Regions from separate parts of the Homo sapiens genome. Here regions 1, 2, 3, 5 and 6 are each linked to region 4. Evidence: promoter capture Hi-C in 16 types of primary human blood cells and fetal thymus (Javierre and others, 2016). All regions are on one chromosome and are shown on one strand. The core of a region is centred on a gene start or on the middle of the fragment in contact, and the rest is flanking DNA. Distances in the headings are between cores, read along the strand shown.

Region 1 (3,887 bases), core at 371-2,870, 360 kb before region 4:
AAATAAAGTTTTATTGGAACTCGGTCACACTCTAGATTATACATTGTCTATGACAGCTTTCATGCTACAATGACAGAATCGAGTAGTTGTGGCAAAGACCCTGTGGCTTACAAAGCCTAAAATGTTATCTGTCTGGTCCTTTACAGAAAAAGTTTGCTAACCTCTTGTCTAAAGCTTCCTATTTGCCATACCTTCACCAGAATTAGGTATCTTCCAATTTTTTCGGTGAGAAATTTTTAATTTTTAATAATGGTTGAGCATATCTTATCATATTTTTATTTATTCCCTGAGAAGTACTTGTCCATTTCCCCTTTCCAATTTTTGGTCCGATTGTTGGTCTTTTATGTATTGCTAGTAGGACACTGAGTTCATTTTAATTGAGAACTATATAGCTCTCATGAATGTTTCTTTTGTTAATTCAGTCTTCCTGGCTTAGAGCAGATACTATTACTAAAACTGGCTGTACATTTTTATACAGTGTCACTGACCATTGAGGAAGGTGGAACATAGGCCAACTTGAGGAGCCATAGAGAGAGACCAGGGATAGAAATGCCTTAAAAGCAAGAGTCCAGAGATAACGCACATGTGCACTCTCTCTCTTCTCTCTCTTCTTCTCTCTCTCTGTCTCTTCCTCCCTCCTCCTCCTCTTCCTCCTCCTCTTTTCCTCCTCCTCCTCCCTTCTTCTTCTTCTTCTTCTTCCTCTTCCCCCCTCTCTCTCTCTCTCTGTCTCTCTCTCTCTCTCTCTGCCTGCCTGCCTGCCTGCCTGTCTCTCTGGCCCAACTCCCTTCTGAGGGACTGGGATGGTCTTCCTTTTGATTATTTATTTACTGGATCCAAAGGACTGCTCCCTTAATCTGCTTCATACACTTGAATTAAAAGCCCTGCTAATCAGAAGTGGTCTGATATACAGTCGTTTCAGAAATTATGAAATTAAGATTTTATTATTTAAAAATAAAGACATCTAATAAGCATTATATTTTATTCTTTCATACTAATTGGTTCTTGTTGAAAACATATATTCTATTTATCACTTTATTAACCAGTTAACATTTCATGTAGCAAGATGATACTGGTTTTTTCCTACTTTTTGAAGCGGTAATGTAGTGTTTCTTTTTCCCAGAAGAAGTGATTTCCTCTGAAGATATTGGAGCTAGCATTTTCAATGGACAGAAGAAGGTGCTGTATTATGCTGATGCCCTTACAGAAATTGCTTTTGTGGTTCCTTCTCCTGTGGAGTCCTTAAGTAAGATGATTTTTGCATGGTCCTGTTTTAGGATCTATTTTTATATTCCTGGGTTGTGTGATATTACTGCATTGGAAGAGATTTTGAAGTGATCTAAGGCATTCTTTAGCTTCTAAGGCATTATAACAATATGCAGAAGCACAAGATGTCTTCTCTTAACTTTTTTATGGAAAGTAGTTAAAGACAAGCAGACTGACCCTCTAATAATCTTTAAATAGTGAAGGAATCCCATTTCAACTGATATTTTGCTTTCTTTAATCTAATTAATCAATACATAGGCTTATTTTCCAGTTCATTTCTTTCTCTAATTACGAGTGATCCCTCACCTACTTTTCTATTCCCATATGAGAGCCTTTGCATGGAACCACCTAGAATCCTACAACTGGAAGTATCTCATGATAGCATATGGCCATTCTTCTAACACTGAGCAAGAGAAACTTCAGCAGCCTAGAAAAGATGGTGGTCCAAGACTTTTTAAGAATTGGGAGTAATTATTACTTCTTAGTCTGAACTCACAGTTTTATTTTGCCCAGAACCTTTGCTCTTTGCAAATTAAGCCTGTTTGTTCATGCCTGACCGAGTAGGTGGTCTGGCAGTAGGTGGGAAACTTCACCTTCTTCTTTGAGATCATTTGTAGGATGGGATACTATACATCACGATTTCAGTCTTATTTCCAGACTAATGACTTTTGTTGTGCCCTACCTTGGTAGCTGCCTAACCTTTGTACTTGGACCCTTGATTTCTCACTCTAGGCCCCTCCCTGTCTTACTCTCTGGGGCCGGCTGTGTTCCTGGAAGGTTGGACCTTCCATGGTTTAGGTTTGAATTATAACAGCTGTTGGGCTTCCCGTCAAGGTTCTGGTTTACTACTTATAATTCCAGAAGCCAGAACCTGTCCGTCCTCTTTGGGGACATACCTGCCTGGTTTCTCTGGCCCAGCCTGTTAGTACCAGACAAGTCCTCCCAGAGCTAGAGCCTCGTCCTTATTCTATAGCTCCTGCAATTGGGTCTTTGTCTCCTGTTGTGAAACATCTCCTATGCCAACTGTGCCCACTCCAACTCAGCTTCCTCCTATTTCTGATATTTGGGGATTTTTTTGGATGGGGTGGAGGATAACTTTCTGTGTACTTATCTCCAACCAGATTGCTCTTAATCACAGAGACTAGATCTTCTGTAGCTTCTGGATGTCCCAGTGCCTATTTGGCACAATGCTACATGATTGAATATATAATCTAAATAATTCAGAGAGTAATAATGGCATTTATTATATTCTACATCTGAAACGTCAAATATTTTCTAGTCTTATTTTGGTTATCCTTTAGAGCAGGAGCTGGCAAACCACAGTGGCACAAGCCAAATGCCGCCAAGAATGGGTTTTACATTCTTAAAGGGTTATAAATAAAATATAAAGAAGAATATGCGAGAGATCTGTATAGCCAGCAAAGCCTAAAATACTTAGTACTTGATCCTTTACAGAAAAAAGTTTGTCAGCCCTTGCTCTCGAAGCAATGCTTTGTTTAAGTGATTTAGGTTAGACTGGTGAGCATAATTAGTTTTAACAGCCTTGCTCCAAATAAGTGGTATGTATTATAGTTGCTTTTTTTCCTTTACCCCATAGCTGATTCATTGGAAAGTAACATCTCGGACCAAGATAGTGATTCAAATATGGATCTTATGCCAGGAATTCTGAAACAGCCATCCCTGACACTTGAGCTTTTCCCCAATCATACAGACAATCTTAATTCCTCACAGAGGGTAAGTTACTTTGTTGATAGGTCTCCAAAATTTTGTAGTGAAATCAGGGTAATTATAGAATCCTGCCTGAAAAGCTTTTAACCCAGAGAGTATTTATATCAGAGTACTGATTCCTTAGTAACTTAATTTTTTAAAATAAAATTCTCACGATTTTCTCTTTTTCAGCCTGTAACAAATAGTTCATTCTGAGACAGCCTTTGTGGTTTCTCTTGATTTCACCATTCTGGTCCCGTACTTGATTCTCTCATCTGTTCCTTTTTAAGCCTAGGTTTTAATTTTGTCCCTGAAATATCCACTAAAGTTACTGCAGTAACTACATGTTTTTTTATCTTTAATCTTGCAATGTTCATCTTAAACAAGTCTGACCATATAAAAATAGGAACATTAGGGAGAATAACTCAGTATATGGATAAATATTCTGAGTGAGGAACACAGCACCTACTACAAGAGGAGCTTTTTGCTTTATCTTTTTTCTTACCTTATCAGCAAATGTTACTTTATCTGTGATCAGGTCAGAAGTGTAGGAAGATTGACTTAGAACAAAACATAACAAAGACAGAAGTGTCAGCTTGACTAAAGGTGTTCCTCCATTGTACAGGATTTTAGGTTAGCTTCCTTCCACAGTGAAAGTTATTTTTAATGTAAGTGTATGCTTAAAAGAGAATACGGGGAGGTTTTTACCTTTAAAATTGATTTAGGAAAAAAATGCCAGGTGGTGTAATAGTCCCTGGAGTAGATTGATTTGAGAATCAGGAGTTTTTAAAAGGTTTTACAGAATACAGTTTAGAGATGATCAGTCAGTATTGCATAGCAATGCAAGATTTTAGCCAAATCTAATACTTACTTTAAAAGTTTTTTTTATTTGAGATTTGTGGACAGAACTAGTATTC
Region 2 (4,065 bases), core at 281-2,780, 340 kb before region 4:
ACAAAAAGATCCTACATTTCTTTTTAATTTGCTTATAATATACCGTAGATATTCTGCAAGTCAGAAGATACAGATATGATGCAAACATTTTAACAGCTTCATGACAAGCCATCAGACGGAGGGTCCGGGTCTCCATGTGGTGTGACTCTCCCACAGCTTAGTCACCCAGATCTCTCGTGATCTGTGGACGTGGACACAGTTTCCAGGTGTTTTATTGTTCGTGTGTGCGTGTTTCATCACAAAACAGGGCTACAGTGGAGATCATTGTGCCTTTGTACTCAGATGTTTGTTAATGAATGAACTAGTGGACTAGTGGCCTGGATGGGTCAATAACTGTGTCTCTTCACTGCCTCTTCCTGGACCATGTCCAGTACAGTATGTCATTTGCTCACCTCTGTGTCCTCCCCTCTAGATACGGCCATTTTCCAAGTCACAGGAGCAGCCTTCTTTCTTGGTCCCTGGTCACCCTTTAAGGCCCTGAAGTCTTCCTGAGGCCTCAAGGCTGGCTCATAGGATTCTGCCTTGGCCCTAGCCTCAGGCAAGGCTGCAGGGATACCCAGGCCTGGCAGGGGACTCCTTCCTGGGTCAGGGGTAGGAGACAGGATGTGACCATCCAAGAGGCCTTGCCTCGTATCTCCACAGATTCAGAGGAAAATGACTCCAGTGTGTGCTTGGATTGGGAGCCCTGGAGCAAAGGCCCAGCTGAGTTTTGCTGGAAGGGGACACTCCACGGCCAAGAGAAGGAGAGGCCCTGCTGGTGAGCCTGCTGTGCCAGGTGAGGCCCTTCCAGGGGCCAGGGGGAGCCTCAAGGCCCACCCAAAGCCTTGGGCAGCTGCTATGTGGGCAAGAGGCTGCCTCCACCATATTAGAGGTATGCTCCCTGGCCATGCTGGATGACGGGTTCTCTCCAGCATGTGAGAGCCTTCTGCTTCATTGTGGGGGAGACCTGGTGTTGCCCTGTTAAAGGGCCAGCCCCCTGTGCCACAAGGAGCCTTTACAAAGGTCCCCTACCCTTTACCCTAGGGCCTCACCCCCCACCACTTTCCTGATGGTCTTTGGCCAGCTGTTCCCTCAGACGTCTGCGTGGGGCACTCCCTCCCCTCTGAGGGCTTGCTCTAATGTCACTTTTTCAGCAGAGTCCCACTGGCCACCCTATTCGATATTGAAGCCCCCACCCTATCCTCCGCATCGTGCTGCTTACCCTGCTCTGCTTTCCTTTCACTGTAGTACTTACCGCCTTCTAACACGTTTGATCGTGGCTGCATCCAAAGCCCCAAAATACTGCCAGACACATGCTAGAGGCTCAATACATGTTTGTGGAAGGATGACATGATATTATTATTATTATTATTACAATGGCTGGTATCCTTGGGGGCTCAATAGGTACCAAGGCCTGTCTGAACCGTTCCCCTTCCACAAGCTTACTTATGAAATCCTATGATGAGGATATGATTCTCACCTCCATTTACAAATGAGGCACACACACATACTCTCATGTGAGGTGTCAGGGCAATCAGATGCTGTACCCAAAGGCCCTTGCACCCATTGAATTCCTAGGAGACCTCAGCCATTCCAGTGGGGTTAGATGCCATCTCTATACCAATGGCCCCAAAATGTGTGTGTCTCATCTAATCTCCTCCCAAGCTTTATTATCTGTCTGCTTGACACCCTCTCATGCCTAGAATAGGAATCTTGATTCCCATTGTCACCCAGCCAAGCAAAACAGCACCCTGATCTTCTGCTAGCTTTTCTTCATCTCCATGAATAGCACCACTGTGGATTGATTCTGTTGCCCGAGTCACGAACCCGGGAGCCAGCCTCTCGCCTCTCTCTCCCAACTCTAATCTCCATCTCTCACGTGTCCGCCTTTCTCTGCCCTACTCTGAAGTTGGTTCATGCAGTGTGTTCACTAGCCCCCGACCCTGTCTGAGTGGAGGGAGGAGGTGGTGAAAAGGAGGGCCCCTCACTTAACCTAAGTTGTAATGATTTTTTAGCCTTTTGGGTCCCACCTTGACCACTGAGGGCCCTTTTCCCAGGAAAACTCCTCCTATGAATGCCCTCAGAGATTTGTGTACGGGGCCAGCTCCACAGGTGTGTAACCTGCAGTCCCACAAGGTCCCAGGCTTGGTTTCATGCTTGGCTATTGCTGTCTTGAAATTCTTAATTTTTGAACAAGGGGCCCCACGTGTTAATTTGCTATTGGGCCCTGCGAATTATGTAGCTTGATCTGTTTTTATATAATTTGTGGCATGAGAAAAGATTTTCGGACGCTGCACAAGAACCCTATCCCATTTATGCATAGCCCTTCCCTTCCCACCCCCATCACTTACCCACCTCTTTCTTTCTTTTTTCCCTTTTTTTTTTTTTTTGAGACGGAGTCTTTCTCTGTTCCCCAGGCTGGAGTGCAGTAGCGCAATCTCAGTTTACTGCAACTTCTTCCTCCCCAGTTCAAGCAATTCTCCTGTCTTATCCTCCCGAGTAGCTGGGATTACAGGCACATGCCATCACGCCCGGCTAATTTTTCTATTTGTAGTAGAGACAAGGTTTCACCATATTGGTCAGGCTGGTCTTGAACTCCTGACCTTAGATGATCCACCTGCCTCGGCTTCCCAAAGTGCTGGGATTACAGGCATGAACCACCACGTCTGGCCTTACCCACCTCTTTTTTCTCATCCCAATGGCATCCCTAGTCCCAACCTTCCTTTTGTTTCTAGTTTGGTTTTCCTGGAGTCAGCAGGGCAGTGGCAATGGCAGAAGTGGATGGGAGAGACTTGCCAGGGAGGCAAGAGGACTTTGGCAACTGTGGTGCCTCCCTGGAACCCCCAACTCATCTCCTCTTCAGACCGACATGTGAAAGCCTCCAGAGGTCCCAGCCCTTCTCCAGCATCACAGATGACCTCCAGCCCTGCAGGGAGCCGCTCAAGTCTGGGAGGGCATGGGAGCAGTGAGCAGGCCCATGGGGAGAAATTGGCCAATTTAATTCAGAGGGGTCTTAAAGCAGGGCTGGGCCGGAGGGTGTGGGTCCATATTAAAGAAGCAAGGGTCTTCCCATACCCGGGGGACCCCTGACAAACCTACCAGGCCTGACCAAGTCATTCATTCAACCAGCGTAGGTCCGAGACTCAGCCCTGGCCCTGATTCAAGCCATCTAGGACCTTCTTGGGAATGCCCAACCCTCTTCCATCTGTTCAATGGGGATGGGGGGCTTGCTCTGAACTTCCATTCTCTGATTTCAAATTCGCTCCTTGATTGGACTTCAGGCTGATCTTAATAACAAATATTTGATAAATAGCTGCAGAGTGTCTACCAAGTGCCTAGTTTGGTAGGAGCAGGAATAGCTATAGGAGTAGCTCAACATTTAGTGAATGCTTACTACACGTCAGGCACTTTTCTATGTGCTTTATACATACGATTGCTGGCCGAGCACGGTGGCTCACACCTGTAATCCCAGTACTTTGGGAGGCCAAAGCGGGTGGATCACTTGAGGTCAGGAATTCGAAACCACCCTGGCCAACATGACAAAAACCCCATCTCTACTAAAAATACAAAAATTAGCCAGGTGTGATGGCTCACGTAGTCCCAGCTACTCGGGAGACTGAGGCACAAGAATCGCTTGAACCAGGGAGGTGAAGGTTGCAGTGAGCTGAGATCGTGCCACTGCACTCCAGCCTGGGCAACAGAATGAGACTCGGTCTCAAAGAAACAAAAACAAAAACAAATACATACGATTGCTTTTAGCCCTTGTAAGAATTCTGCAAGGTAGGTTGGTTACCTCTGTTTTACACATGGGGAAACAGGCACAGAGCAGTTAGTAAGTTGCTCAGAGTCACACTGGGAGAGTTGGCATTTGAACCCAGGTTCCATGACTCCAGAACCAGGTCCCACTCCACTGTGCCAGTTCTTCCCCAGGTGGGGTGCTGGGGGAGGTATGGTGGGAGGCGTAAGTTTCCAGAGGCTGCAGGATGATGGGGGTGGGGGGATAAAGGGACAGGCCCTCCAAGGTACCAACTGGGCATCATCTTTATCCCTTCTTTCTCTCTCACTCCACACCCCACCAGCCACCAC
Region 3 (4,364 bases), core at 539-3,038, 300 kb before region 4:
AGGAGTTCGAGAACAGCCTGGGTAACATGGCAAAAACCCTGTCTCTACAAAAAATGCAAAAATTAGCCAGGCATGGTCATGTGTGCCTGTAGTCCCAGCTACTCAGGAGTCTGAGGTGGGAGGATGGCTTGAGCCTGGGAGGCGGAGGTTGCCGTGAGTCATATCGCACCACTGCACTCCAGCCTGGGCCATAGAACCAGACCTTGCCTCAAAAAACAAAAACAAACAAACAAACAAACAAAAACAGAAAAGCACATATATATATATTTTTTTTTTAAAAAGGCAGCATGTGGATGACTTTTCCTTTTTAATCCAAATGAGTCTTGTTTTTTAATAGGGCAGTTCAAACCACCTATGTTTATTGGTTTTCTTTGCCTTTTGTTGGTTTCCACATGGGAGCTTAAATATCTATAGAACTTGCAGAATATACATTTTTCCCACTTGAGGAAACTGGGGAAATGGATTTCTTCCCTCTCTTCTGGCAGGGGTAGTTTATGGTCTATTTGCTGGCATGTGTCAGGGTCTAGGTGATTCCAGTCTAGTATTTTTGCCATTATGACCAACCCTACCATTTCTCAAGGATTTGGGCCAGCAACAGGGACATTTTGTCCCTAAGCTCATCTGAAGTCCTGGACTTCATTTATATGGACCAGGAGACTTGCACTGTCTTACCCTGAGATTCTTTGATTGCATGAAGCAGAAATTCATTGAGTGTAGCTTGGGAAGAAGAGGGGGATTAAAGGGAAGGATGTGGGAGTCAGGGCTCTAGGGGTAAACCACATAGCCTGGATCATGAAAGGCTGCAACTGGGACCTGGAAAATCAAGCTTAGGTTACCCCACATCCCTCCATGCCTGCAGAGGGTCTCCTCTCTGCTTCTTTTGGAAGACTGGCCACTCCAGCCCCACACAGCTTCCAGTTCACGTGCCTGATACTGACCCCTCTGCCCTTGGTTCAACACCTTGAGAGAATGAGATTGGCTCAGTGATGTATAGCACCTCTGTGATCAGGTACCTGCTCTGTTCAAAGCTGGCTGGGAGAGGGGAGGAGATGAGGTGCTCCTGTGATACAAACAGGAGACCCAGGGCTTGGCAGCCAGACTCACAAAGGAGGAAGTGTGAGGGAAGGAGACAGGAGACTTTCTGGGTAAAAATTCAGTGAGATCCACGAGACACTGCCCTGTCATTTCCTCGCCTGTCCTGGTGTTTAATCCCCTCTTGGGAATGCTGCCTTTACCGTAGGTATGTCCAAGACTGTTAGCCTTGACCAAGAAGGTGGAAGCAAGCAGAGCAGTCTGGCCCTGCTCTGTCCCCTGCAGCATTGCTGGTTTCCAAGGATCCCGCAGGGGTGATGGGTCACCAGTCAATTTGCTGAGATCACCCTGAGAAACATGCCTAGGAAGCTTGCTTAGCCCCCAGGGGCCCAGGCTGATTTCTGGAGAGCCACAAGCCTCAGCACAACCCCCATCATAAGCAGAGACTTGCTGACCTCCCTGCACCTTCCCCACTTGCTACAGCTCTGGCCCCTCCTCAGGCCGAATGGATCAGCTTCCCCAGAAGAATCTCCTGCGACTACACCCTGCTGGCTCTGCTGGCTGTTCCACTGGAGTGGAGAGCTCCAGCATGGATGGCTTTTGGATGGAGGTGGAACAGATCCAACAGAGAGATGAGCTGAGGGAAGAGGACAGTGGCGGGAATGAAGGCCAGCTTCCAGAGGGTGAGAGACCCTGGCGGGGGCCTATAGGGGTGGTGGGAGGGCTTGATTCCAGGCAGAGAAATGTCAGAGGATCCAGATATGAACCAGAACATGACAGCATTTTCTCTGTTGCCTGGACTGGTGCAGTATCCTCTTCACTGCTCTCCCTGCTTCACCCGTGATCCTTACTGTCTGTTCTCCATGCCATAGTCAAGACGATCTTTTAGTAATGTAAATTAGATTATGTCCCTCCTTAGAGTAAGTCCTTCAGGAAATATTTTTTGAGTGCCTATTATGTGCCAGGCACTGTTTAGGCACTGGGGATACAACAGTGAACACAAAACAGTCTCCTATATACAGACCTAATGTTCTAGGGAAATTCTAAGCCCTCTGCTCTAAATCCTCAAATATCTCTCCATCTATCTCAGAGTAATAGACAATTATGTGTCCCTATTATCTACTACTATGTAACAAACCACCTCAAGCTTAGAAGCATAATGCAGCAATAATCAATTATTATGACTATTACTATACCTCACTGTTGGAGGGGTTGAGTGGGCTCAGCTAGGTGGTTCTTGCTCAGGGCCTCTCATGCAGTTACAATCAAATGGTAGCTGGGGCTGGACTCATCTCAAAAGATTTCTCATCTATGTGCCTGGTGGTGGATGTGACCATCAGGGGGCCTCATCTGGGATTATCATCTGGAATACCTGCATGAGGCCTCCACATGTGGCCTGGGCTTCCTCACAGCATGGCGGCTGGGTTCCAAGCACAAGACCAAGAGAGAGAGCTGGGTAGAAGCTGTCTTGCTGCTTATGACCCAGCTTTAGAAGAAAGACAACATTGCTTCTGCTGCATTCTGTTACCCTGCATGCAGCTATGTTCAAGGGGAGGGGAATTAGACTCCACCCCTTGATGGGGTGAGAGTCAAAGAATTTGGGGACGTGTAATAAAGCCACCAGATCATAACTTACCAGGCTTTACATAATTGGCTTCGTGCCTCCTCTCTGCCTCTTCTCCTCCCACCCTGACTGGCTGTCACTCTACTTCTGTCCTCGGGCCTCCTTGCTGGTCCTTGACCCTAAAAGCACTTTCCTGCCTCAAGTCCTTTGGTTCTCTCTGCTCCCTTGGCCTCAAATGCTCTTGCCCCAGGCATCTGCATGGCTTGTTCTCTCCAGTCAGGACTGGGCTCAAATGTTACCTCCTCAGAGAGGTCTTCACCAGCTTCCCTACACAAAATAGCACCCCTGCCCCATCACTCTCTAGCCCCTGCCCTACTCTGTTCGTTGCTGCAGCAATGATCACTGCCTGACTTTACCTAGTGCACTTCACTGTGCATGTGTCTGTGACCCCCACTAGAATGTAACTTCCATGAGGCCAGGGACATCATCGGCCCTTTTCACTGCTGTGTCCACAGTGCCTAGAACAGAGCCAAGCACATTCCCCTCCTCCATCCTTACTTGTTCAGCAGATGAGGGAATGAAAGGGCTCCACATGGAACCCTTCCTGGTTTGGCATGTAATTCAGCTGGGCTTGCCCCTGGTTGGCAAAACAGACCACGTGGTGATGCAGACCTCCTAAGGGCCTAATAGTCTCATGCAGTGCCTCCAAGTGTAAATGTAAAAACATCCCTGGTTACACTAGAAGTGGTTTCAGGAGATGCCCTGCATAGGAGGTCCTCCATGTGGCCTCTCTGGAATCATGATGTGGCCAGCAATCTAATTTCCCACAATACACAGGGAGTGGAGTCAGAGTGGGTCAGAGAGAAGCCACTTTGAGCAACCAAATAAACACAGGAGCTTTTTTAGACTCACAGGGCTGAGGGATCCTGAGTGGCATGGAGCCAAGACTGGTTTTTTTTTTTCCTTTCTTTTCTTTTTATTTATTTATTTAATTTTTGAAACGGAGTTTCACTCTGTCACCCAGACTGGGGTGCAGTGGCACAATCTCAGCCCACTGCAACCTCCATCTCCTGGGTTCAAGCGATTCTCCTGCCTCAGCCTCCCAAGTAGTTGGGACTACTGGCATTCACCACCACACCCGTCTAATTTTCGTATTTTTAGTAGAGATGGGGTTTCGCCATGTTGGCCGGGCTGGTCTTGAAATCCTGATCTCAGGTGATCTGCCCACCTTGGCCTCCCAAAGTGCTGGGATTACAGGCATGAGCCACCATGCCTGGTCATCTTTTCTTTTTATTCGGACACCAACTTGAACCAGAGGGATTGTTAATAATTTATTTTTCCCATCAATGTCTACTCATGGCAGGTGATGTTGGATGCTCCATTTATGGTGGGGATCTTGTTTCCTTTTAAAATAGATGTGTTTTAGTAAAAAATGTAGCCCATGATTAAGGGGATATATTTGGTAAGGAATTTTACAGGGACAATTAGATACAGATAAAAATTATAAAGGTGGTTGGTGAATGCCTACATTTCAAGAAACAGTGGCTCATTGAAAGGATCCTGTACAAACAAAAAAATGTCTGGCATCATGATAGAATCAGTACCTCCACCAGCCAGCACAAGTCAGGAATGGACCCACAACATTGCAACTGCCCTGGAGGCATCTGTTCTGGTTCCCAAGTGCAGGGAAAGTGTTGGGGGAAGACTTGGATTATTTGCAAAACCCAGGCTGCCATAAAAGCAGTTTTGTTTGAGTTTTTAAAACACT
Region 4 (4,247 bases), core at 517-3,016:
TTTCTTTTCTTTTCTTTCTTTCTTTTTCTGAGACAGGGTCTTACTCTGTCACCCAGGCTGGGGTGCAGTGGTGTGATCATAGTTCACTACAGCTGCAAACTCCTGGGCTCAAGTGATCTCTTGCCTCAGCCTTCCCACTGGCTGGGACCATCATGAGCACTGCCATGCACTAAAAGTTAGGCGCACCACCATGCCCAGCTAACTTTTGTATTTTTTTGTAAAGACAGGGTCTCACTATGCTGCCCAGGCTGGTCTCAAACTCCTGGGCTCAAGTGATCCTCTTCCCTTGGCCTCCCACAGTGCTGGGATTACAGGTGTAAGTCACCATGGCCAGCCACATCTGAGATTCTATGCTGCAAAAATAAGAAGTGAGATGGGGAGCTTTAGAGGAATGTAGGGTCAAGAGAGGGTTGTTTTAAGATGAAAAATATTTCAGCATGCTTGTAGGCTGATAGAAATGAATCGGTAAAGAGGGAAGCTGATGTTCCAGGAGAAAGAAGAAGATTGCTGGAGCGATGCTGGTGAGTAGTAGAGGGGCTGGAAATGCCCAGGCAGAGGGGTTGGGGTTGGATGGGCACAGGCACAGTTCATCAATGCCCAGTATACGGGCAGAGATGCAGACAGGAAGGTAGACTAGATGGCCGCACGTGGACGTTCCCTTCTTACTGTTTCTGTGTTCTTGCTGACATGGAAGACAAGCTGTCAGAGAGGAAAAGGTAGAGAGAATGAGGGAAATGCGGCCTACCAGGCAGTTTTTTTGTTTGTTTGCTTTTGTTTTGTTTTGTTTTGTTTTTAGATGGAGTTTCGATCTTGTCGCCCAGGCTGGAGTGCAGTGGTGCTATCTCGACTCACTGCAACATCCGCCTCCCGCGTTCAAGTGATTCTCCTGCCTCAGCCTCCCGAGTATCTGGGATTACAGGCGTACACCAAGACACCTGGCTAATTTTTGTATTTTTAGTAGAGACGGGGTTTCACCGTGTTGGTCAGGCTAGTCTCAAACGCCTGACCTTAGGTGATCCGCCCTCCTCGGCCTCCTAAAGTGCTGGGATTACAGGCGTGAGCCACCGCGCCCGGCCTCCTAGCAGGCAGTCTTACGGATTATGAATTTAAAACATGACCAGTCAGTAAGCATGGTTACGCTCTTTTTGTTTTTTCTTCAGCCCTGTAGGGCTGCCGGGGTGCAGGTGGAAAGTAGGGTATAACCACGGTTGGTTGGGGTTTTACAAGGCAAAAATCGATGAAATGAGAGAAGACTACCCGAGGGTGTAATCAAAGGAGCAGTCCTAATACGATGAGCCGGTATTCTTTGAATGAATGAATACATGGTTAAAGGCAGGTGATAAAGGCGATATGGTTGGCCATGCCAAAGCACTGAGAGCCTAGGAGCAGCGTGGCCAGAGTCTCCGGGAGTCGGCACCTGCCTCTCCTCGTTGTCTAGGCCTGACTGTCCCTGGCCTTGCACGGCCGCGCAGCGGGGCGACCGGCAGGGGGCGCGCTGGGATGGCCAGGAGCTCGGCTCTCCCCGCTCTGTCCCTGCTCTGCGGCCCGCCTCGCCCCTGCAAGTTTAAATTCCTCTTAGCAAGCCCAGCATCGCAGCCAATAACGCATCAGGGGGCGGAGCCGTAGAGGCTTGCGCCCCGCCTCGCTCCGCTATTGGAAGGAAAGCAGCCAATGGGAGAGCCGAGGCGGGGAGGTGCGGCCAATGGCGCGGGCCTGTTTGATTCAAAGGTTGCCTATAAAGCGGGACTGCACGCCGGTTTTTGTCCGAGGGCTGTCGAGTCCGAGCGCCGCCATGGCTCTGCTGTCCGAGGGCCTGGACGAGGTGCCCGCCGCCTGCCTGTCGCCGTGCGGGCCGCCCAACCCGACCGAGCTGTTCAGCGAGTCACGGCGCCTGGCTCTGGAGGAGCTGGTGGCGGGCGGCCCCGAAGCCTTCGCGGCCTTCCTGCGACGCGAGCGCCTGGCTCGTTTCCTGAACCCCGATGAGGTGCACGCCATTCTGCGCGCGGCGGAGAGGCCGGGAGAGGAGGGCGCGGCGGCGGCGGCGGCGGCCGAGGACTCGTTCGGCTCCTCGCACGACTGCTCTTCGGGCACCTACTTCCCCGAGCAGTCGGACCTGGAGCCACCGCTGTTGGAGCTTGGCTGGCCCGCCTTCTACCAGGGCGCCTACCGCGGCGCCACGCGTGTCGAGACGCACTTCCAGCCCCGCGGCGCTGGCGAAGGTGGCCCCTACGGCTGCAAGGACGCTCTGCGCCAGCAGCTCCGCTCGGCGCGAGAGGTGAGCGGCCCTCCAGGGCCCTGGGTCGCACGGGAGACCCCCTTCAAGAATGGGAAATTGAGGCCTGCTGGGAGTACGGGCCGGGGCCACTACCTCCTCTGCGCCCTACCGGAAGCGCGCGCGGGCTAGGTGGTCCCAGGGTCTCCGACTCACACCCCACTCTGCGTGTCTCCCCCGGATCCCCCGGGCCGCTCCTCGTGGCAGGGGATAGTGGGAAAGCCTCGGTTCCCAAGGATGCGAATTGTGCCCGGGTTCCATCTCCTAACGTTCATATCCCTGAAGGAGGGACCAGAAGTACTCTGAGTTCCAAATTTCAGTTAAAATCAAACTTGGAAAATTGCCTATTTCCCTGTCTGTCAGCCAACGCTAGATCCCACTTTCAGGAGCTTCTTAGGAGACTCATTACCAAAGAACTTACGCAGGGAAAGTTCCAGAAAGATGGTCTCCAGAGACAACTACGGGGCATTAGGAAGCAATTATTATTGCTAATTACTTTCATGCATCTTTTGCTGTAAAAAGCAGATAAACACGAGAGTGGCAAAGTGAGAGCCCTGCCGCTTTTTCTTTCTTGTCTTTTTTTTTTTTTTTTTTTTTTGAGACAGATTCTCTTTTGCCCAGGCTGGAGTGAAGTGGTGGGATCTCAGTTCACTGCAACCTCCGTCCCCCGGGTTCAAGTGACTCTCCTGCCTCAGCCTCCCAAGTAGCTGGGATTACCGGTGCCCGCCACCACGCCCGGCTAATTTTTGTATTTTTAGTAGAGACGGGGTTTCTCCATGTTGGCCAAGCTGGTCTCGAACTCCTGACCTCAGGTGATCCACCCGCCTCGGCCTCCCAAAGTGCTAGGATTACAGGCGTGAGCCACCGCACCCGGCCCCCTGCCGCTTTTTCTACTGCCAGAGACTGGAGGGGAAACTGGGGCAAGGGGTTTGTTTTCCATAGGCTGGGTCTGTGCCAGATTGCAGTGGTCTCCTAAAATGCAGATACATTTGCATTAGATCGGCTTCTGTATTCATAGTGGGTTTTGGTCCTACTGTCTGACTCTTAGTATGGCATGGTCATGGGTGCAATGGAGGTCTTGTCTGCTTGCCAGCCTCGATAAAGCTGCAGCAGGGTGCTGGGGATCAAGGAGGAAGAAGGCAGCCTGCAGGTGGGTGTGGCACATAGAGTGTCGTGGCAGACACCTTGGTCTGGAGCCATGGTCAGGTTGCTTGCTGACTGGCAGTGCCCAGCTCCCTGGCTATCTGCCTGTGCCAGGGACATGGCAGATAAAGCCCCAGCCATGTTAAGACTTGTTAGGGCTGGTACCTGAGTGTGTCTGAGTGTGGGTGAAGATACCAGTGCATTGTCAGGTTGACATGTCCAAGCCCCGACTCTCACCAATGTTCTTAATGTTCTTTCCCTGACTGGTGGGGTTTCAGTGGTAGTGGATACAGTGACCTAGTGCCTTGCCTTTGAGGGAGTGGTTGTGGGCTGCAGCTAGGCTCTTACCAGCCCTGAGGTGCTTTGGGTGGACTGAGGGTTTTTTGATGCAGCAGACATTTTCCTTGCGGGTTCAGTGAAAAGATTAAAAAGATGGAAAAGGCAGACTTGTGTAGGTATGCATCCCCAAAGCTCATGTCCAGTAGAACTTGAGCACTTGGAACCTGAAAAATGTAAAGAACTGGTCTGTATAGTGAGAGCTGTGGATTGTTCTAGTCTTTTGCCCAGCCCCAAATTTTAGTGATAGCAAAAGGGCACTGGAACTAGAGGCCAGAGGGAAACTATTAAACTCACGTGCTGGCGTGAGGAGGGGATGGAGCCAGGAGCTCAGACTCTCCCTCATCTCACGGGCATTTTGTAATACTGACATTTCCAGATAGAACCTGCTGCCCTAGTCTAGCTACCCACAGTTCCCTCCGAGATGCTGTATTTGGAACCTGGGCAGTTTTAACTGAGAAAGGTGGTACATTACCTTTAAATCCAATGAGTATTG
Region 5 (4,111 bases), core at 1,498-3,997, 320 kb before region 4:
TCCAGAACAGTGGTGTTTTTTTTTTTTTTTTGAGATGGAGTCTCACTCCGTTGCCCAGGCTGGAGTACAATGGCACGATCTCGGCTCACTGCAACCTCCGCCTCCCGGGTTCAAGTGATTCTCCTGCCTTAGCCTCTTGAGTAGCTAGGATTACAGGCGTGCGCCACCACGCCTGGCTAATTTTTGTATTTTCAGTAGAGATGGGGTTTCATCATGTTGGTCAGGCTGGTCTCGAACTCCTGAGCTCATGATCCACCCGCCTTAGCCTCCCAAAGTGCTGGGATTACAAGCGTGAGCCAATGCGCCTGGCCCAGAACAGTGGTTTTTAAACCAGGGTTCTGCAAACATTTTATTTGAATTTAATTTTTATTATATCTTTCAAGTATTAAACATCTAGTAAAAATACTACCTCCACTCAGGTATCCCAAATGTTTTTTGTCAACTAAAATTATCTTGATTGTATGATCAGTAAATGCTTTAAATTAAACTTATAAAATCAGCTTATAATAATATCACCGTTACCTCTTTTGTTTATTGAGAAGACATTCCACTGCCAAAGAAAAAAAAAAAAGCGAAAACTACTTCCCTGGAACAAGGTTGGTCTGTTTGCTCCAGGCTAATGTTCTTGTGTATTGGCTCACAAGGTCACTAGGTCAGCTCCCCCAATCCTTTGAGTCTGTTCATCTCACTGGTCCCTTGCTTGTGAGTCATTTAGTTATTCAACAAATTCCAGCAGGACGGCAACCTTCAGGATGTAAGCCCGGATCTGTTCTGTTTACCCACAGCTCTCCAGCACTGGCACAGGGCTGGCTTGTTGTAGGTGTTCATGAAATATTTCCCTGATGAATGAAATGCTCACTGCCTCTACATGAAGTCCTGTGATGGATATGAGGGTGTGGGCATGAATAAGATGCTCTCTCAGCCCTTAAGATGTCCACAGGCTGGTCCAGGAGGAAGACATAACACTGGTCACTACCACATAATACACTAAATGCTGACCTGAAAGGCCTGAGCAGGGATGAATAGAGTCAATGTTGTCATCAAACAGAACATCCCATAATGTGAGGGGGACACCGAATTCACTGTCTATGTGGACTTCATCTTAAAACCATGCAATATTGGCCTTGGGAGGTGCCTCAAAGACCCAGTTGGAGTGAGGTGACTCTGTTGGGATTCCCCTTATCCTTGCTCCCTGTAGAAATATATTTTCTGTTAATTCATGATTGGTATAAAAATGCAAAAAAAGTAGCAAGTGAAATCCACCTGCCCCTCCCACCTCCAACCCACAAGAACAGCAATTGTGAGAAGTTAAGTGTACATCCTATAGGATTTTGTGCTTCATAAATATTTACATACATGTATACGTAAAATGTATCTATGATCCAATCCATGCACATAATTGTACTTACATACGTGAATTGGTTTGTATTATGTATACTATTTTATAAATGACATTTCCATCTTTATAATATCTTTTCCTGGAAAGACATAGAAATCAACATTATTCTTTTTTTTTCTTTTGGAGACAGAGTCTTGCTCTATTGACCAGGCTGAGGCTGGAGTGCAGTGGTGGAATCACTGCAGCCTCAACCTCCCAGGCTCAAGTGATCCTGGGACCACAGGCATGCACCACCACGCCTAGCTATTTTTTTCATTTTTGTAGAGACAGGGTCTCCCTATGTTGCTCAGGCTTGTCTCAAACTCCTGGACTCAAGCAATCCTCCTGCCTCAGCCTCCCAAGTAGGTGGGACTACAGGCATGTGCCACCACACCTGCCCTTACGTTATCCTCTTTAAAGACTGTGTGATGTTTCATTTTATGACTGGACAGTACTTTTGTTAACTAGCCTCCTGTTGATGGAATTTTAGGTTGCTTCTTTTTCTCTTTTGGTTGCTATTATAAACTATACTGCAATGTTCTTGGACATATATCTTTGTGTACTTATGATACATTTTCAGAATAGGAATCATGGAGTCCAAAGGTGTATACATTTAAAATTCTGAAACATATTCTGGGTGGTTTTCCAGGAAGGTTGTACCCAATTAGACTCACCAAGTGGGTGTGAGCTTGTTTCCTAATATACATGACATTCTTGACCAGACATTATTGTTCATTTTTAGTCTTGGCTAATTGGATTGGGAGAAACCTGTCTCTTGTTTTAATTTGCCCTTTTTATTATTATTAGTGAGGCTGAGCATCTTTTCACATGCTCAGTGTCTGGCAGAGTTCAAAGGCAGATCAGAGAGGCAGAAAGACCCATTTTGAGTCTAGTGCACCAGCCAGATTTCCTTAATCAATAATGGGTTAAATGACTTGGCTGATTGCACACAGATAGCTTGTAGAATCAATCACCTTTACAAGGTTCACCTTCACTCATATTTTGCTCATGTGTAGCTCAAGTCTCTGCCACTGGGGTCAATGTCAACTGATCTCTCCAGACACACCCCCTTGTATGTGAACGCAACCACTGAATAAATCACCTACACATGGTTTAAATATGTCAGGGGTAGAAGGACAGCCTGAATCTGAAAGCCCAGCTTCACCACTTATCAGCTGTGGACCTCTGGGGAAGTTACTTAACCTTTCTGAGCCTTGGTTCCTTTTCTGTAAAATGGTTGTGAACAGCGGTACCTGCTTCATAGACTTGTTGTGAGGATAAAATGACATTAATGCATGTGAGGGCTTAGTACAGTGCCCACCATTTAGAAATGGGACAATTTGTGTCAGATATCAGTGGTCAAAGGGCAAGTTCTTGGAGCTGACTCCAAATAGCACAGGCTTGTTTTCATGGGACAAGTACATTCGGGACTCCTGACTCCTTGGCATAGCAGAAAAATTTGCATTTGAGTCCTAAATCCTCCACTCATCATTGGGAAAGTTCCTTCATTTCTCTGGGCCTGATCCTTCATTTGTGGAATCAGTGCCATTCAGATAGTGGCTGCCGTTCACACTCACACATCCTCCTGGTTCGAAACCCGGAACGGCCACCTCAGATCCGCAGCTCAGGGGACCAGGCTGCCGCTGGGGGCTTCTGACCAGCTTTGCAGGAAAAAGTCCTTGCAAACCACTTTCCTCCAGGGCTCTCCAGCAGGAGGGGCCTCCTCAGATCCTGCTTACAAACCAGCGAAGGGCAGGTCCCTTCGGATGGAGCTTCCTATTTTCCCTCTTTTCTCACAATGAAGCAGAGGTGAAGGTGTTAATTACACCAAGCAGTTAGGCTGCCGCCCTTCACAACCCTGGGGTCCTCACCCTGCCTGCAATGTGGAGGCCGCTTCTCCACCTCCCCTCCTGTCAGGCGTCACCGACTCTTCCCAAATTGACCAGCAGATGCTCATCCAAGTGTGAGAAGGTCTTTTCTCGATACTTGCCAGTACTGAGTGTTGGCAATCTTTTCTGTGTTTGCCAATCTGATAGAGTTCATCCTTGTTTTATTTCGCATTGCCCTGATTACTTGCGAGGCTCCACATCTTTTCACATAGGGCATTTGCATTTTATCTCCTGTGACTTGTGGATTTCTATCTGCTGCCAACTTTCCCAGTAGATTTTTTGGGTATTTTTTTTCTTGTTGCTTTCCAGGAACTCTTTATATATATAGACTGAATAGTAACACTTTATCATTTGTTGCAGATATTTCCTCTCAGTTGAGGAAAAAGGTCCTATGACATTTTTTATAGTGTCTTTTGTCATACAAAAGTTTTAAGTCTTGATGTAATCAACTCAGCTTTCTTCTGTTATGGCTTCTGGATTTTAATTTGTTTGGAGAGTTGTTCTGCACTACCATTTATTTCTTACTGACTTTGTTCTCATTAAACCCTAATACAGACTTCTATCCACCCAGGGAAAACTTTGCACTTCCCAGCATAAAGACCTGCTCCCCTTCCTGGGAGATTTGCATATCTCATTTCCTCCCAGACATTCACTGACTTGTTTCTTTAAAACTGAGTTTCAACACCACCTCCTCCAGGAAGCCTCTTCTCAGCCCACTCCCCCTTTTGTTCTCTAGTTACTACTCTGTCCCCTCGGGCTGTTTGCCCCATCTTAAGAGGACTGTTGGCTGCTGGCTGCTCGTTGGTCGGAAGGCAGCCTTGTGTTTTCATGTTTTTGGAGTACT
Region 6 (3,982 bases), core at 820-3,319, 390 kb before region 4:
TCTCTTGAACCTGGGAGGCAGAGGTTGCAGTGAGCCAAGATTGCGCCACTGTACTCCAGCCTGGGCAACAGAGCGAGACTCCATCTCAAAAAAAAAAAAAAAAAACAGAAAACAAAAACAAAAAAAGAAATTTTTCATTACTGCATGTGTTCTAATATAAATGTTTTAAGTGATTATTGTTTGTTTCAGCATTTTGAGCTGGTGTTAGTGAGCTCTGCTTGTAATGTCGTAAAATATTTTTTACTAAGAAATCCTGATTTGTGTTAGTGTCGCATGAGTGTCTCTCTTTAATGATCATTCCTTTTTCTGTTGTCACTGCCCTCTTTCTGATAGGATCGACAGGTATAATGTCCCTAAAGCTTCCTTTATAAATTCAGTTTAATTTGTCTTTATTTAATTTTTCCTAATTTCCTATTAGCTAACTAGTGATTGCTTTTACATATAGATTGGAGCCCAAATAAAAATATGGTGGCTTGGTTATTTAATTTTTTTAGAAGTATTAAAGTAATCCTGGAGAATTAAATGTTAAAGTATGTTTGAAAAGGCATTGCATGTGAGTTTTGATGGCTTAAACCCTGTAAGTAATTTCAACAGATGCTTGCTTCAGAGTAATTCCTAGCATCTGAGGAGGCCGTAAAATTAGAACTTTCCTCTGTAAAGTTTCAAGGAAATAATTGATAGCCTTTTCATCACTCTTTTTGAAAATGTAGCTATGAGTTGATAATTTAGAAACTTTAAATTACGTTGTTATGAAAATGACACTGAAACTGCCAAATCCCACGGTTGTGTCAAAGTGCGTGAACCAGGAACTAGAAGCTGCTCTGGTCTAGCACATGTGCCTGTGCACCGTGTAGTCAGGCTTGGCACTCAACCCAGTGGGGTGGGGAGCGTAGCACTGTGTGGGTGCCCGTCGTTCTCACTGTGGCTGCTGTGGTCTGTGCCTAGTGGATGCTGTGCTTCTCGTTACTAATGCTTAGTTGTTTTCCCTCCCTGTGGGATGTGGCATTGGGGTTATATCCTAGCTCTTAATACAGATTCAGCTGCTGGGCTCCTGATTCGCAGCATTCATCTCGTCACCCAAAGACTCAACTCCCAGTGGCGCCAAGACATGAGCATATCACTGGCAGCTCTAGAGCTCCTCTCTGGCCTTGCAAAGGTGAGGAAGACAGTCCTTTTATTTTAACCCAACAGCCTTGGGCCTTGGCTGTTTTTTCTGTATCTCTTAACCCCTTGTGTGGGTATTTTAGTGTTGATCATGCTCAAACATAGTTTATATTATATCCAAAGTGTACAAAATTTAGCCTCCAAGTGATATTCTATGCAATGAACTTTACTTTTTAAAAATAGGTTCAAAGAGTATGAATGAGATTTTTACCGTTAAATTATAGGAAACATTTCAATACTTGCCATTTATTTATTTGCATATAATACTAGAATGCATATTGATTTTGTAAAAAATGATTATCCTAATGTATGCCATTTGGGATTACCTGTGGCTCTGCCATCCTCCATTATCAGAGATAAGTGAAAACTGGCTACACCTTTTTTTTTTTTTTTTTGAGACGGAGTCTTGCTCTGTCGCCCAGTCTGTAGCGTAGTCGTGCAAACTTGTTGCACTGCAGCCTCCGCTTCCAAGCAATCCCCCTGCCTCAGCCTCCAACTAGCTGGGATTACAGGCATACGCCATCACAGCCAGCTAATTTTTGTGTTTTTAGTAGAGATGGGGTTTCACCATGTTGGCCAGGCTGATCTCGAACTTCTGACCTCAGGTGATCCACCCGCCTTGGCCTCCCAAAGTGCTAGGATTCCAGGTGTGAGCTACTGCACCTGGCCTTGGCTACACTTTTTAGATTTCTTTCCCAGCCGTTACTTCAGTTTTTTGGAAACTTAGAACTTGGTGGTCATTTGTGCTTCTCTAAGTGTATTCTTTTGAGATGAAATTTGTGTAATATAAAATTAGCCATTTAAAAGCAAACAATTCAGTGACTGTTGGTACATTCACAATGTTGAGCAACTTCTACTTCTAGTTCCAAAATGTTTTTATCATCCCTAAAGGAAACCCCATACCCATGAAGCAGTTTTGCTTCAGTCTCCGCACCCCCTCCTCTGACAACCACCATTTCATCTCAATGGGTCTACCTATACTGGACATTTCATATAAATGGAATCATACAATGTGTGACCTTTTGTGTCTGGTTTCTTTCACTAAATGTAATGTTTTTGAGTTTCATTTATGTTGTAGAATGTGTCAGAACTGTATTCCCTTTTATGATTGGATAATATTTCATTGTGTGTATATACCCCAGTTTACCCATTTATCACTTGATGGACATTTGGGTTGTTTTAATCTCTAGGCTGTTGTCAGTAGTGCTGCTGTGAACATGTATGTACATGTATTTGTTTGAATACCAGTTTTCAGTTCTTCGGGTGTACACTAGGAGCAGAATTACTGGGTCATATGGTAACCCTATGTTTAACTTTTTGAGGAACTGCCAAACTGTTTTTCACAGTGACTGAATCATTTTACATTCCCAGTGTATGAGAGTTTCACTTTCTTTGCATTTTCTCTAACATCTAGGTGTTTTCTTGACAGTAAGATGAGCAGGATTATCTTACATATAATATATAATTGAGGAAATACGTAAAATATTTTGTGAACAAAGAGCCGATAACCAGGTGCTACTGTCTGGGATGATATGGTTCAAATCCTTATTTTTCAGTTATGGGAATAGTTGTCAGAGGCTGTGACTTACCTAAGCTGTAAGAAACAAAATAAGCAATAAAACCTAAGGTGTTCTTACCACCACTTAGAGCTTACCTCAAAGATCCTCCAGGATGGACATCATAACTTTGCGAGAAGCAGTTACTGGTACAGAAAATAAAAAACAGCCATTTGTGAGACATACAGGACCACACTGTCTTTGAGAGCAAGGTACTGTTTCCTGTGACCTTTAGTACACTCAGTAGTAAGCAATAATTAGTCCTAAATGGAGCACTGCTCTGGACCTGCCTAACAATTCATAAAGGGCTAACACTACCTGATTTGATGATTTACTGTAAGGCTACAGTAACACAACAGCCTGGTATTGGCATAGGGGTGGACAAATTGATCGGTGGAAGAAAATAGTATATCCATACTTAAGTGGTCATCTGATTTTTGACAAAGGTGCAAAGGTAATTCAAAGGAGAAAGGGTGGTCTTTTCAACCAGAGGTACTATAAAACAATTGGATAGTCATACACACAAAAAAAAGCCAAAAAATTTTGATTCATACCTTGCACTATGAACAAAAATTAACTCAAACTGGCTGGGCATGGTGACTCATGCCTATAATCCCAGCACTTTGGGAGGCTGAGGCAGGAAGAGACCAGTCTGGGCAACATAGTGAGACTTTGTCTCTATTACATAAAAATATATATATAAAACCTAAACAATAAAACTTCTAGAAGAAAACAAGAGAAAATCTTTGTGACCTTGGGATAGATTTCTTAGGTGTTACGCTAGAAGAACAAACTGATATGTTGGACTTCAAAATTTAAAACTGCTGTTCTTTAGTAAACACTGTTAAAAGAATGAGATGACAGATCACAGGCTGGGAGGAAATGTTTATAAAGCATATATTTGATGAAAGATTTGTATTCAGATTACATAAAGAACTCTCAGGACTCAATAATAGCCTTTCCTTTTGGTGGTGCACAGCAGCAATATGGTGGTGAAAATTTCTAAGAAGAGGAAGTTTGATAGCATCTTCAGAAATAAACTGAGCGAATTCTTCACTCAGAAGCTTGCAGAAGGTGACTACTCTGGAGCTGAGGTCCAAGTTATGCCAACCAGGATAGAAATCACTACCTTAGCCTCCAGGATGCAGAGTGTTCTTGGTGAAAAGAACCACCGGATCTATGAATTGGCTGAGATAGTTCAGAAGAGGTTTGGCTTCCTTGAGGGCAGGGAAAGCTTTATGCTGAAAAGGTGGCCTAAAATA

The links. The method cuts DNA at HindIII sites, captures the fragments that hold promoters and counts their contacts. A CHiCAGO score of 5 or more calls a contact.
Region 1: a contact is called between a fragment that was not itself captured here and the fragment with the promoter of FAM83D in region 4, in 1 of 17 cell types (naive CD8 T cells). The highest score is 5.3, in naive CD8 T cells.
Region 2: a contact is called between a fragment that was not itself captured here and the fragment with the promoter of FAM83D in region 4, in 6 of 17 cell types (naive CD8 T cells, total CD4 T cells, activated CD4 T cells and 3 more). The highest score is 6.7, in naive CD8 T cells.
Region 3: a fragment that was not itself captured here is called in contact with the fragment with the promoter of FAM83D in region 4 in 8 of 17 cell types (naive B cells, activated CD4 T cells, naive CD4 T cells and 5 more); the score reaches 10.8 in naive B cells.
Region 5: a contact is called between a fragment that was not itself captured here and the fragment with the promoter of FAM83D in region 4, in 4 of 17 cell types (total B cells, total CD4 T cells, naive CD4 T cells and 1 more). The highest score is 6.6, in total B cells.
Region 6: a contact is called between a fragment that was not itself captured here and the fragment with the promoter of FAM83D in region 4, in 2 of 17 cell types (total CD8 T cells and naive CD8 T cells). The highest score is 6.0, in total CD8 T cells.

The regions. Positions count from the first base shown.
Region 1 is chr20:38,564,236-38,568,122 of GRCh38, forward strand. RALGAPB (Ral GTPase activating protein non-catalytic subunit beta) reads left to right here. Exons shown (of 30, transcript NM_020336.4): 25 at 1,124-1,243; 26 at 2,861-2,997. Among named protein-coding and RNA genes, the nearest start is that of ADIG, 15 kb to the right of the region's middle. RefSeq lists an enhancer at 639-1,139. The HindIII fragment of the contact is 2,897 bases long and covers 173-3,069 here.
Region 2 is chr20:38,585,387-38,589,451 of GRCh38, forward strand. ADIG (adipogenin) reads left to right here. Exons shown (of 3, transcript NM_001393816.1): 2 at 643-775; 3 at 2,715-3,077. The coding sequence ends at 761. Among named protein-coding and RNA genes, the nearest start is that of ADIG, 6.2 kb to the left of the region's middle. The HindIII fragment of the contact is 224 bases long and covers 1,419-1,642 here.
Region 3 is chr20:38,621,844-38,626,207 of GRCh38, forward strand. It overlaps ARHGAP40 (Rho GTPase activating protein 40), which reads left to right. Exons shown (of 15, transcript NM_001164431.3): 2 at 1,516-1,715. Among named protein-coding and RNA genes, the nearest start is that of ARHGAP40, 22 kb to the left of the region's middle. The HindIII fragment of the contact is 778 bases long and covers 1,400-2,177 here.
Region 4 is chr20:38,924,651-38,928,897 of GRCh38, forward strand. It overlaps FAM83D (family with sequence similarity 83 member D), which reads left to right and starts at 1,767. Exons shown (of 4, transcript NM_030919.3): 1 at 1,767-2,275. The coding sequence starts at 1,793. RefSeq lists a silencer at 1,385-1,744 and enhancers at 1,855-1,954, 3,340-3,429. The HindIII fragment of the contact is 27,857 bases long and covers 1-4,247 here.
Region 5 is chr20:38,604,383-38,608,493 of GRCh38, forward strand. All of the region lies in intron 1 of ARHGAP40 (Rho GTPase activating protein 40), which reads left to right. Among named protein-coding and RNA genes, the nearest start is that of ARHGAP40, 4.6 kb to the left of the region's middle. RefSeq lists an enhancer at 3,901-4,111. The HindIII fragment of the contact is 7,117 bases long and covers 1-4,111 here.
Region 6 is chr20:38,534,052-38,538,033 of GRCh38, forward strand. RALGAPB (Ral GTPase activating protein non-catalytic subunit beta) reads left to right here. Exons shown (of 30, transcript NM_020336.4): 16 at 1,023-1,156. It also overlaps the pseudogene RPS3P2. Among named protein-coding and RNA genes, the nearest start is that of MIR548O2, 19 kb to the left of the region's middle. The HindIII fragment of the contact is 3,425 bases long and covers 358-3,782 here.